Regions from separate parts of the Homo sapiens genome. Here all the other regions are linked to region 2. The links are contacts of gene promoters, found by promoter capture Hi-C in blood cells and fetal thymus (Javierre and others, 2016). All regions are on one chromosome and are shown on one strand. Each heading gives the region's core, a stretch centred on a gene start or on the middle of the fragment in contact. The rest is flanking DNA. Distances are from core to core; before and after follow the strand shown. Region 1 has its middle 14 kb from the start of FGFR4. Region 2 holds the start of SLC34A1 (solute carrier family 34 member 1). Region 3 has its middle 2.9 kb from the start of HK3.

Region 1 (4,491 bases), core at 764-3,263, 310 kb before region 2:
ACCTGTATAGCAGCCAATGAGGGGTGGCATGAGGGACAAGGGCCTGGGATTCAGGAGCCCTAAGTGTTGGTCTGAGCACTGCCACCAGCTATATGTGACCTGAGGCCTTGTGAAGTGGAAGTTAGAAGAAATCACAGTTCCCAGCTCAAATCCTGAAGAAGTAGCAATGAACAGGTAGAGTTTCCTCCCAGAGCCCTAAGCCAGGTGTGGTGCACGTGCCTGCAATCCCATCTGCTCGGGAGGCTGAGGCAGGAGGATCGCTTGAGCCCAGGAGTTCAAATCCAGCCTGGGCAACATAATGGGAGCCTCTTAAAAAAAAAAAAAAGAAAGAAAGAAAAAAGGGGCCAGGCGCCAGGCGCGGTGGCTCACGCCTGTAATCCCAGCACTTTGGGAGGCTGAGGTGGGCGGATCACAAGGTTAGGAGATCGAGACCATCCTGGCTAACACGGTGAAACCCCATCTCTACTAAAAATACAAAAAATTAGCTGGTCGTAGTGGCGGGTGCCTGTAGTCCCAGCTACCGGGAGGCTGAGGCAGGAGAATGGCATGAACCCGGGAGGCGGAGCTTGCAGTGAGCTGAGATCGTGCCACTGCACTCCAGCCTGGGCGACAGAGCGAGACTCTGTCTCAAAAAAAAAAAAAGAAGAAGAAGAAGAAAGCCCTTCCTTCCCTCACAGCAGTCCCTGCCAGATGAGCTGTCCCCACCCCCAAACCAGATGCTCTGATGAGCAGTCACTAGTGTAAAATACAATAGGAAGAACACTTTCTCCCTCTGACCATCCATCCACCTAACCTCACCTCTCTGCCCTGTGCAAAGCCCTGTTACAGAGACAGGGCAGACCCGTCCCCGGCCTGTCTCTCCCAAGCTTACTGTTCATATATGCTGCTTCATCTGTCTAGGAATATCAGAACGCAGTTCTGTAAATGTTCAACTCTTCAGTGCAATGACCCCATTAGCCACTAGGTGGAGTCAGCTTCTTTTTTCTAGCAAGGTAGACCAGCCCTGGGACTTTACTGTTTGATTTAATGGGAAGAGAACAGGGTGACTTCACGAGCCCCTGTATATGCTATTTCAGTTAACCCTCAGGACAACTGGCAAAGACTTGATTTCACAGGAGAAAGTCAGGGACAAAGTCTTGCAGAGCTTACACAACCAAGAAGTAGCCTTGGAGAGAGATTTGATCTTAGCACTTCTGCTCATTCCCAAGGCCGATTTCCCCTTCCCTCAGGACATTTCCCTCAGGAGGCCCTCTCTGTTTGAGGGCTGTAACTTAGTCACCTGTCTAGAAGTACACCTGATGTCAGGCCAGCTCCACAGCCCTTCTTTTCCTTTTCTCCTTTGGGTGACAAACCTGCTCCATTCTCAGATCCTGTGGTTCCGAGGGACTGGCCCTGCTCTCTGATTCCAGGAGTGAGCCTGTGACCCGACTGAGTAATCACAGTCATAGTCTTCAGCTGTTAGTGTCCAGCATGTAAGGACAGCCTGCTTCAGAACTAAGCCAACACAGAGGAGGCCGGGCTCGGTGGCTCACACCTGTAACCCCAGTACTTTGGGAGGCCAAAGCAGGCAGATTACTTGAAGTCAGGAGTTCAAGGCCAGCTGGCCAACATGATGAAACCCTGTCTCTACTAAAAATACAAAAATTAGTCAGGCGTGGTGGCGCACGTCTGTAGTCCCAGCTACTCAGGAGGCTGAGGCAGGAGTATTGCTTGAACCCGTGAGGCGGAGGTTGCAGTGAGCCGAGATCACACCACTGTACTCCAGATAAGGAGAGACTCATTTCTGATGACTACCTGGATCCAGCTATGCCTGAAGCTAATATCCCCCAGGACTTTTTAGTTATGACTTTTCTTTAAGTCAGTTGAGTTTCTATAACTTGCAACCAAGATTTCTGCCTAATACTTGCTCCAGCTCCCCTTGTCAACCTGGGGACCTCCACTCATCCAGAGATCACTGGCCCCCAAGGCCAAGTTGGCTGCCCTTTGTGTTCCCAGATGCCCTGTGTTCCCCTCTAGCATAGCCCTTAATATGCTGTGTTACGATGATCTAATTCCCTGTCTCTTCTTTTAGACTAGAAACTGCTTGAGGGCAGGAATTGGGTCTTATGATACTGCATCCCTGGTCCCTAGCATAGGACTGTGCTTATGTTTTAATAACTGCTTGGTGATTGAATACATTAATGAATAAATGAATAAAAATGGGTATGGTCTGGTAGGGACCATTGCTGGGATTTCACAGGAAAGACATTTATTTTGTTTGTTTTTTGAAACAGCGTCTCACTCTGTCACACAGGCTGGAATGCAGTGGTGCAAACACAGCTCATTGCAGCCTCGACCTCACTGACTCAAGTGATCCTCCCACCTCAGCCTCCCGAGTAGCTGGGACTACAGGCGCACACCACCACACCCAGCTAATTATCTTATTTTTTGTAGACACAAGGTCCCACTGTGTTGCCCAGGCTGGTCTTGAACTCCTGAGCTCAAACGATCCTCCCACCTCGGCCTACCAGAGTGCTGGGATTGCAGACGTGAGCCACCGCACCTGGCCGGAAAGACTTATTGAGGGAGATGATCCTCTAGTGGTCATGAAGGTCAAAGGAGCCAGGTTGCTGGGGTGGGAGGAGGCTTAGTGAAAGGAACTAGAAGAGGCGAGTTGTGGAACACAGTTGATTGTTTCAATAATGGCCTCCCATGAATCATTGCCTCCCTGTGCCTGTGTCCTTTTGCAATGTGACTTTATCATTGCTCCCATCAAGATCGGGCGGGCGGGGGAGGGGGGGGGTCCATTTCCCAGTCTCTTGAATCTGAACTAGTCTTGTGAGTTGCTTTGATCAGAGAATTCAGTAACATGACTGTACGACTTCCAAGGTTAGGACTTAAGTGCTCATGCAGCTTCCGTTCCTGACCCTGTGAAAGGAAGTTTGGGCTAGACCATGTGGCGACCACAGACCAGGTAGAGAGAGAAGCCAACAGCCAGCTCCATACATGTGAGGGAGGACATCCCAGACCCTCTAGCATAGCCAATCCACAGCATAAGCAGAACTGCCACCTGAGCCCAGCTAATCACAGAATTGTGAGAAATAATACATTGTTTTAAATAATTAAGTTTGGGAACAGTTTGTGCAGTAAAGGCTCACAGAATCACTAGGTATAATAATCAGAAGCTTCCTAGTGTCTGTTTACCCTTCTTCCTATAATAAGCTTTTCTTTGAAAAACCCCACCCTCAGCTTATGTAGTCCGGGTGGGGAAGACCTCCACTCTCCTGGCTTTTGCCAGAACAGTTGAGAAGTTGCCAAGTGGGAATGTCTCGAGCCCAGAGCTGTTAGTGGCCTTCTTTGTCACTTCTTAGGGAGCACCTGTCATAGAGAAGAAGACAGAAGAGAGAATGAGTTTTGACCATACTGTTGGGAACCAGGATCAAGCTGTTTCTGGAGCCTGATTCACACCAGGACTTACAGTCATGCTCCTGTAGTCCCAGCTACTCAGGAGACTAAGGCAGGAGAATTTCTTAGGCCCAGGAGTTCACATCCAGCCTGGGCAGCACAACAGACCTCATCTCTTTAAAAAGTGCATGAGCCAGTACATTCACTATTTTGTGTAAGCAGGTTTGAATTTGAGTTTCTGTGTCTTGCAACTGAATGAAAACGTTCGCTGAGAGCCAGAAAAATTGATAGAGGCTGAGCAGCTCCAGGGCAGAGGGCAGTTAGGTCAGACAGAGGAGGGATTCCTGGCCGGGCAAGTTGGCTCACACCTGTAATCCCAGCACTTTGGGAGGCCGAGGCGGGCGGATCACGAGGTCAGGAGAACGAGACCATCCTGGCTAACACGGTGAAACCCGTCTCTACTAAAAATACAAAAATTTAGCCGGGCATGGTGGTGGGCATCTGTAGTCCCAGCTACTCGGGAGGCTGAGGCAGGTGAATGGCATGAACCCAGGAGGCGAAGCTTGCAGTGAGCCGAGATCGCGCCAGTGCACTCCAACCTGGGCGACAGAGCAAGACTCCCTCCGTCTCAAAAAAAAAAGAATTTTTTTTAAATAAAAATAAAATATATCTACATTTTGGCCGGGCATGGTGGCTCACGCCTGTAATCCCAGCATTTTGGGAGGCCAAAGCAGGTGGATCATGAGATCAGGAGTTCAAGACCAGCCTGGACAACATGGTGAAACCCCGTCTCTATTAAAAATACAAAAAAAAACTAGCCGGGCATGGTGGTGGGTGCCTGTAATCCCAGCTACTCATGAGGCTGAGGCGGGAAAATGGCTTGATCCCAGGAGGCAGAGGTTGCAGTGAGCCGAGATGAGTAACACTGTACCCCGGCCTGGGCGACAGAGCCAGACACCGTCTCAAAAAACAAACAAACAAAAAAATCTACACTTTTTAATACTCCTCCCTTCAATAGGTCAAGTTTAATTTCTACCCTATATCCCCTAATATGGGCTGTAAGTAGCAATTCACTTTACTTACTGATTGATTGATTGACTCAAGGTC
Region 2 (4,416 bases), core at 873-3,372:
CTGGTCTCGAACTCCTGACCTCAGGTGATCCACCTGCCTTGGCCTCCCAAAGTGCTGGGATTACAGGCGTGAGCCACCGCGCCCGGCCTAGTTTGGCATTTTGAAAAGATTGCTGTCTGCTGCTTTGGAGCATGGATCAGGGGCAGCAAGGGCAGAAATGGACAGAGCACTTGGGAAGTGACCGCAATGACCCAGGGGAGATGACAGGCCCAGTCCAGGGAGGTGGCCACAGAGATGGCTAACAGCAAAAGATCAGGGAGCTCCTGGAGCAATAAAATTGGGAGAATTGAGGACTGAGTTGGAAACGAGGAAGTGGAGGGGAAGGAAACAGCAAGGATGTCTGCTTGGTGCCCGACCCAGATGGATGGACGGTGTGCCGCTCACCAAGATCAGGAAGAAGGAGGAGGCCCAGGTTTGGGGTGAGAAGCACAGTGCGTGCTTCTGGCTTGCAGAGCCAACTGCTCGTGCCAGAGGCCGCTCAGAAAGCCTGAGCAGACGGAGCTTGGCACCTTCCCTCCAAAACAGCTCCTCCTGCTGGGTTCCTTTCTCAACGCGAGACACCCCCAACCAGGCAGGCTCTCAGCCCAGAAAAGGTCTGGGGAGGCCATGGCCAGAGCCCAGGTGCACAGACAAGGTGGGACTCACCACCCAGGGGGACACACAGACTCTGTCACTGGCCAGGGAGGAGGCAGGCAGTAGGCAGGGAGGTGCTGAAATGGCAGAGAGGCTGGCAAGAGATACGTTGGTGCTGGAATGGAGCTGCCTTCTCTGCTGCTTGTATGAGTCCCAACAGCAGCTCTGGTCAGATCCAGCATTTTCTCACTTTCACTAGGGCTGTAGCCCCAAAATAAATCTTTAGAAGTGGTGGCTGTGTAAATCAGCAGCATTTTGGAATTATATCTCTTGATGGATTTGATCGATAGCTAACTGCCTCCCCCACTAAACCCAGAGCTCCGTGACAGCAGGGAAGGCAAACTTCAAAAATATCAAAAAGCACAACCTTATTAAAAAGGAGAAACACCCCCAGTTCACCAGGAGCACCTTGGATTCAGCTGCTCCTGCCAAGGGTCTGAACTGCACGGGGGAATGGAGAGAAACAGGTCACGTGGGCCGGGGTCTCTGGGCCCGCTGTGGGGGTGTCAGTTTGCTCATAGGTGGAGACACTCGATGTGACATTAACAGCACCTTCAAGCCCAAGGACCCAGAGATTCTGACACAAGAACTGAGAACTGATTGCATTTCCGTGACTCAGCGACACCCTCCTACCTGGGCATGAACCCAGCCCTAGCCAAAGATCCAGAGACCCGACTCCCATCTATTTCCTTTTCCTCTCTCCCTCCCCGTCACCAATTCTACTGGTCAGATGTCCCTGGGATGCACCTGTCCTCCCCAGCCCCTCCGTTCCCATCGGAGTTCAGGCCTCATCATCTCCTGCCTGGACCATTAGCCTCTTAACTGGCCCCTCCGCTTCCAGGCTCCCTTCCATATATCCGGGTTCCACCCCGGGGGCCATTCTAAAAGGCAGATCAGGCCCATCCCAGTCTGGCCAGCGGCTCCACATTCACTCAGACTCACATCCTGGACCCATGGTCGGGCATTAGAGACCTGCCACGATTCAACATTCCACGGCCTTTCCAGCTTAGGTCCTCATCTCACACTCCCTCTCCTCTGAGCTCCCCCTGGGAGACTTACAGACACCCCGACGCTTGGCAAGGCCATAGGATGTTTTTGTTTGGTTTGGTTTGGTTTTTCTGAGACAGTCTCACTCTGTCACCCAGGCTGGAGTGCAGTGGCACGATCTTGGCTCACTGCAACCTCCGAAGGCCATAGGATGTTTGGGTCATTCCCTGGGGAGTCCTGTCAGGCCAGGAACGAGGGGACCCTGGGAACAAGGTGCTGAGTGGCATCAGGGTCTCTGCCTGCAGGCGGGGGATGTGTCTGGGTCGTGGTTGATGGGAAGAACCTGACCATAGATTCCCCATGCAGAGCTGACGATTAGCAATTAACTGGGAGGAATCTCAGGGGTGAGGTTAATTGGGGGACAGAGGGAGGGCAGCTAGGGTTCCAGGGACTTTGCCCTTGACCCAAGAGTATAAAGAGGAGGGTCTCAGTTCTCCTCAGGGTCCTGGAGGCTTCATTGAGCTGCTGAGCAGAAGCTGAAACACAGAATTCTAAGGTGAGCCCAGGACCCTCACATCCCAACCCCACCCCCAGCTCTGAGTAGGAAACAGCCCAGCACCCCAGCCCCTTCATCTGTGTCCTATCTGCGCCCACCCCCACCGCGCCCCATATAACATGTCAGTCCAGCCAATCGCGGTGGCTCCCACCTGTAATCCCAGCACTTTGGGAAGCCGAGTGGGCGGATCACCTGAGGTCGAGTTTGCACTAAAAATACAAAAAATTAGCCAGGTGTGGTGGCAGGCACCTGTAATCCCAGCTACTTGGGAGGCTGAGGCAGGAGAATCGCTTGAACCCACGAGGCAGAGGTTGCAGTGAGCCAAGATTGTGCCACTGCACTCCAGCCTGGGCGGTAAGAGTGAAACTCCATCTCAAAAAAAAAAAAAAAAAGGACTCCTGCTCCTTCAGGACTTGAATTCAACTCTTCACACCCCTACAACAGCCAAGGACGCTGGGACAATGCGGGGAGTGCTGAGGCAGATCAGGGCACTCCACCCCAATAGCCAAGACTCCTGGGGCAGTGCGGGGACAAGGGGGGGCTGAGGCAAGCCTGTCAGTGTTTGTTCATTGCCCCTTGAGGGGGTGGATGGGGAAAGGAATTCATTGTGAGGGGAACCCAGGAACTCGGGATCCGGCCCAGGGGATCTCCGTGTGTGCCCAGCTGACCCCATGAGAAGGCAGGTGTCTGCAGCTCCTCCTTGCTCTCCAGGTGGGCAAAACTGAAGCCCGGCCCAGCCCCAGCCCACACCTGCAGCCACTGCCAACACCACGTATTCCCTGGCCCCCTCCAGCCCCAAACAGGCTGGGCGTCCTCAGTTCTCAGTGTCTTTTATCAATGCTATATCCAAGCCTCTGGTTCGGAGCCTGGGCTAGAGCTCAATAATACTCATTGAATGAGTGAATGGTGAATGAATGATCACCTCACCACCACCACACACACCCCTCCGAGACTCACATGCAGGTGCCCAGCACAGATGTGCACATGTGAGTCTGCATGTGAGTCTCGGAGGGCTGTGGTGGTGATGATGGAGGGTGTGGTTTGCTGGGTGTGTGTTTGTGCGTGTGAGTCTCGGAGGGGTGTGTGTGTGTGGTGAGGATGGAGGGTGTGCTTTGCTAGGTGTGTATTTGGAATCATGCGCCATGGGGGTTTGTGCAGGTGAGGGTGTGTGGGCATGAGTGTCCCGGACACAGCTATTGTCATTCAGCGTTGCTGAGACCCACTGACCTGCAGACCTCATAGTGGGTGCCCAGGATGTTGTCCTACGGAGAGAGGCTGGGGTCCCCTGCTGTCTCCCCACTCCCAGTCCGTGGGGGGCATGTGATGCGAGGGACGGCCTTTGCCTACGTGCCCAGCCCTCAGGGTAAGTGCTGCTCCCACACCCTGGACCCTGGTTGCCCACGGTTGCCCACATCCCGGATGAGGCCACTTCCCCCGCCTGTTCCTCCCCGCCTCCCCACTTTGGGGCCCTGGGGCTCCTGACCAGGCTCCCTCCCTAGTCCTACACAGGATCCCGGGGACCTCTGCCTATGCCTTCCCCAGCCTGGGCCCTGTGGCCCTTGCTGAGCACACCTGCCCCTGTGGGGAGGTCCTGGAGCGCCATGAACCACTGCCTGCCAAGCTGGCCCTGGAGGAGGAGCAGAAGCCAGGTGGGCCTGGGCTGGGGGTGGCAGAGGCGGCAGCAGTCCCTGCCCTGGCCTCTGCCCACTATGCTCATGGCTTCCCCCATCCAGAGTCCAGGCTGGTCCCCAAGCTGCGCCAGGCTGGCGCCATGCTGCTCAAGGTGCCACTGATGCTCACCTTCCTCTACCTCTTCGTCTGCTCCCTGGACATGCTCAGCTCGGCCTTCCAGCTGGCTGGAGGTAGGGCCCGGGTGGAGGAGACCTGGGAGGGGTTCCTGAAGGGCCTTGGACAACGCTGGCTCATGCTCCCCAGGGAAGGTGGCTGGTGACATCTTCAAGGATAACGCCATCCTGTCCAACCCGGTGGCCGGGCTGGTGGTGGGGATCCTGGTGACCGTGCTGGTGCAGAGCTCCAGCACCTCCACATCCATCATCGTCAGCATGGTCTCCTCTGGCTGTGAGTTGGCCCACCAGGGTGGGGAAGAGCTTGGAGGGGCACCCCAGGAGCTGGGAAGGGTGGCAAATGGGGAGCGTGACCCCAGTAAGGCTGGCCTCCATTCAGCTTGACTCCTGTATCAGCCAGGGACATGAGAGGAGCCCAACTGTAGCTGTATGTGA
Region 3 (4,604 bases), core at 1,471-3,970, 480 kb before region 2:
GAGAGGAGGTGACAGGCAGACTGCGGAGTCTAGCCTTTAGTCTGTAGCCTGCGCAGGGAGAGTAGGTTCACATCTTAGGTCTTCTCTACTGGAAGAAGGGGAGTGTTAGGCTGCTGTGGAGCTATTGGCGAACAAGCTGTTTTTCTGTGGGAATTTCTCCTCAAAGGCACAGAACCTTGGGGCACCAATGTAGAATACTAGACAGCCTGCAACAATCTTTGTTGAAGGCATGGATACACTTTAAAGCTTCAGGCTGCCTTGTCAGCAGTAACTCTATCCACAGATAGTAGGCCTCCACATGACATCAGGATGGAGACCAGAGATAGTGGCTCCTCTATCAGTAGTGGCATGAAGAGGCCAGGAAACATGCCAAACATCAGTCCTGCTGTGAAGTTTACTGGGTACCAACCAGGCATATAGGCTGTGAAAGGCAGGGAAGTGGGGGATGGGGTGGCAGAGGGTAGAGTGGCTGTCACAAACAACACAGCATCCTGCCTAGCCTGGGATCCCAGTCCCTTTCAACTTTGTTCAGTTGGGAGAGGAGAATGTGGAACTGACTATGAAAGGCCCAGCTGTGATTCATGCAGATAGCCTGCCATTTCTTGAGCCAGGGTGAGGATATGCCCCTGACAAGCATGGCCAGGGCTCTTCATCTGCGTTTCTGGAAGGTCTGTGTCCAGACCCCAGGAGCAGGGGTCCTGGTTCCCTAGTCAGAATGCCAGGGAAAGTCTGGGTCAAGGCCAGTGGAGGGAGAAGGATGGCTGAGCTTGAGGTCTGTGAGCAGCTGGGACAGCCTGGCTGTAGCAGAGGCACTGCAGCTGCCAGCGGTTCTCTTCAGACACCAGATGGCCACTGACCAACAAAGGGAAGGACAAGTCCTCACGAGGTTCCCTCATAGCCCCTTAGTGCCAATCTCCAACTGTAGAGATGGAGCTAAGGAATGAGGAAAGGCAGTTTGCTGGGGGAGAGGTGGGCACAACCAGAGCACTGCCGATGGGCTGGGAGGTCAGGCCTTCCCTCTGCGCTTGCTCACAGGCTTCTCACCACTCACAGTGCCCATGCCAGGCACAGAGATCCTCAATAAGCTCCCCCAATTTGTTCCACACCCTTTATACCGTGAATGTGCCTTGCAGCTCTCCTACACACATCGAGCTACTTCTGTTGTGTCTTTGTTTGCACTGACTTGTCTGGAATGACCCTCCCTTTGGCCTCTCCCACCTTTTCACCTCATTTTTCCTCATCCCTTAAATTATAATCATCAACGACAATGAGGAGCCCTTCTCTGAAAAGCTCCTCCTGGCCGACCCCAGCTGAGTGTGGTCTGCTTATTGGTTCCGTATTATGATGCATGTTCTTGTATCACTGCATTTATATCTGTTTATTAAAGGCATCTGTTTATGTGTTCTTCTTCCCCATTGTACTATGGGCTCCCAGAGAATGTTTCTTATTCACCCGTGCAGCCTCAGACCTCAGTTCTTTATCTGGCAAGGAACAAGTATCAATTAATTTTTGTTAAATTGAAGAGCCCTCCCACAATCTCAATAGTCCACGGCTGGCCAAGCATGATGGCTCACGCCTGTAATCCCAACACTTTGGGAAGCCGAGGTGGACGGATCACTTGAGGTCAGGAATTCATGATCAGCCTGGCCAATACAGTGAAACCCCGTCTCTACTAAAAATTAAAAAAATTAGCCGGGCGTGGTGGTGTGCACCTGTAATCCCAGCTACTCGGGAGGCTGAGGCAAGAGAATTGCTCGAACCTGGGAGGCAGGGTAAGTTGCAGTGAGCCGAGATCACGCCACTGTACTCCAGCCTGGGTGACAGAGCAAGACTGTCTCAAAAAAAAAAAAAAAAAAAAAAAAAGTCCAGGGCTTTTGAAACTGAGAGGAAGCAAGCAAGCTCTTACTGTCTTCCTGGTGCATATGGTTTCAGCAGTCTTTCCACTAGTCCATCTTTCCACTGACAACTACAACCCTCTCATCCACTTACTACCTGCCTTCCCCTCCCCAAATTCCCATCTGCTAACAACCTAAGGCCAAAGCTACCCTGATTCACAGGCAAAAATGAGCTCATCCAAACCTGAAATTTCCCTTGAGTCATTAGTTTTGTGACTGAAATGAGAAGTAGGAAGTAGTGTGCTATAGTACAGAAAGCTTCAGCTCTGGGGTCAGGCAGACCTGGTTTCAAAATCCCATCTCATTACCAACTGAAAGACCTTAGACAAATTTCTTATTCCTCTGAGCCTCGGTTTTCCTTGTATAAAACTTGGAGACTGATGTCTTCATAGGATTTGCTTTAGGTTAGGTAAACCCAGAGGCAGACCTAATTTGAATGCAAATAACTTTATTTGGGAAGTGATCCAGGACAGGGCCAGAATCAGGGCAATGCAAATGATATGCCTAGGGTACAGAATGTAAAGAGACCCTCTCAGGTTCATACGGGTGCCAACCTTGCACTTAGATGAACCCAAGAATAAAGGCTCATCACCCTAGTCCCAGTCCTGATCAGGAAAATACAGAAGAGGAGCTGGAAGCCAGGTAGGAAGAGAAAGAAGCCAAGGAAGTGTACGTTAATTGTTACTGGGAGCTTAGAGAGGTTCACTCCCACAGGGAACCCTGAGAAATAGGTAGAATGTGCCTTAGAGTTGTCCCTCACTGAGTGAGGAAGCTGGGGTATCTATCCTCCCACTTCCACTGGCTGAGAGCTGTCCCAGGGGCACTAACTCCCTGGTACTCTCAGCTTGTGCCAACACAAACCAAGAGAAGTCCTCAGGCAGAGTCTCAGGTACTTGCAACAGGACTCTGTGGGTATACAGCAGAATGGCGAATGCCTGGGGGAAATGGGCGAGGCACAACCTCTGCTGGGGCTGCTGTAAGGACTAAATGAAAAAGCACAACTACAGCGCCTAACAAAGAGAAGTCCCCCTCTATCTCTTCCAATTTACGGCAATAGCTTGTGAAGTTTATGGAGCTTCCCAGCTCTCCGTGAGTTGGCAGCATCAGCAGAACAGCTATTTCTCATCTTTCAGAAGTAAAAGAAATCCAGGGGCCCTAGGAGAACTCTAGATGCCTGGGACCCAAGTTTCCTGTGGAAGCCTGATGGTTGATGGAGCCCGAGTAGTCCCTCCTGAGTACACATTCCTCTGAAAACTATCTCCTCTTGCATCTGCACCCGTCCCCCATCCCTCCACCCCTCAGTGCAACATCATTTGTGACACATAGACTAGCATCACATTAATAACTGCTGCCACTAACTCATTCTTCTATGTGATGACATTGTGCTGGATCAAAGCTTTATCCACATTATGGTAATCCTTAGAACCCTGTTAGTATGATCTTTTCCCATTTTATGGACAAGAAAGCCAGGTCTCAGAGAGGTTAACTTTTATCAGAAGCAGGGTGCAGATGTAGGCTGATCTCACACATTTTATACTTTGTCTCTTCACTCTTTCACTAATGCTCCTCTCACAGGATCACAGCATGGGGAGAATAAGACTGTGGGCAAACAAGACGGTTGTGAGGAGGCGATGGGGGAAGTGGGTAGCTGTTCTTCCCTTGACTCCCCATTAGCTAATAATTAAGCCTGTGGTTCCTGGTCTGGCTGATCCATACCCTCCTGCTGCTGACTCATGTTTTAGGGAAACTGCTCAATTTTAAGCTAAATAATTCACTTTCCAGAAGTACCCTTTCCCTTTTCTTATCTTCAGGCAAACAGATACACACACTGTCCCCTGTTTATACAGCGCTACCTCCAATAAATTGCCATTTAATGAAAGAGAAAACAAGCGAGAGTTAAGCTTATGGGACATAACTGATAAACTACTTTTCACTAGAAGAAAAACAGGAAAATAATCAATACTGGAGTCAAAATATAGCATTTTCTTCAGGAATGAAGAGTAGGGGCACTGTGGTTCCACTGCCATGGACAAAAAGTGGCTTATTTGTTACTCTAAGCCTTTGCTTCCTCATCTGGAAATTGAGATGATAATACCTATACCCCATAGGGTTGCTATGAGGATTAAATGAAGGCCACATACATTGCCTGGACCGTAGTAGTTGCTCAAAAAATAACAGCTATTTCTTATGTGCTGCTAGCCACTAGGTCAGTGCCATCCAACAGCAAGACATTATCTATGGAAGGAAAAGACAGTGAGACTGCCATCTTGCCTTCTTCTAACTCAAAAGGTTGTGTGCAAAGGGACCTAGGCAGGAACAAGGCCTTAATGTTTGTGCTGTCTTCCATCCCAGCTATCTGCTAACTCCCCAGTCTAACACATACCTCGTTTTCATGTTAAAAGAAAAGATAACTTTGGACAAAATCAGAAGTTAGGAGAGTCTTGAGTGTGCCTGTTTATCCTGTCCCAAGATCCTTTCCTGGTCAACAGCCACCTCCCCCAGTTTTTCATTACAACTTCAAATCAGTTTTGGCCAAAACTAGCATTCTTCACATCCTTGTTTGGTCATCTCCTTCAGGTAGCTCCTTCTGCCAATTGACATCCTCTCATCTTCAGAGTCTGCACATGGCATGCACCGAGAACAGACCACATCTCTGTTCTGCACTGGAAGCTCCTAGGCAACACGGTGAGGAATGTGCGCTATGTTAGT

The links. Contacts are between HindIII fragments. The CHiCAGO score rates a contact against its expected background, and 5 or more counts as called.
Region 1: a fragment that was not itself captured here is called in contact with the fragment with the promoter of SLC34A1 in region 2 in 1 of 17 cell types (endothelial precursors); the score reaches 6.0 in endothelial precursors.
Region 3: a contact is called between a fragment that was not itself captured here and the fragment with the promoter of SLC34A1 in region 2, in 1 of 17 cell types (monocytes). The highest score is 5.5, in monocytes.

What each region holds. Positions count from the first base shown.
Region 1 is chr5:177,071,056-177,075,546 of GRCh38, forward strand. It overlaps a transcript of ZNF346 not described here. Among named protein-coding and RNA genes, the nearest start is that of FGFR4, 14 kb to the right of the region's middle. The HindIII fragment of the contact is 2,298 bases long and covers 865-3,162 here.
Region 2 is chr5:177,382,312-177,386,727 of GRCh38, forward strand. It overlaps SLC34A1 (solute carrier family 34 member 1), which reads left to right and starts at 2,123. Exons shown (of 13, transcript NM_003052.5): 1 at 2,123-2,176; 2 at 3,384-3,539; 3 at 3,676-3,825; 4 at 3,910-4,038; 5 at 4,112-4,255. The coding sequence starts at 3,431. The HindIII fragment of the contact is 19,795 bases long and covers 1-4,416 here.
Region 3 is chr5:176,899,900-176,904,503 of GRCh38, forward strand. No RefSeq gene overlaps it. Among named protein-coding and RNA genes, the nearest start is that of HK3, 2.9 kb to the left of the region's middle. RefSeq lists an enhancer at 267-768. The HindIII fragment of the contact is 1,138 bases long and covers 2,152-3,289 here.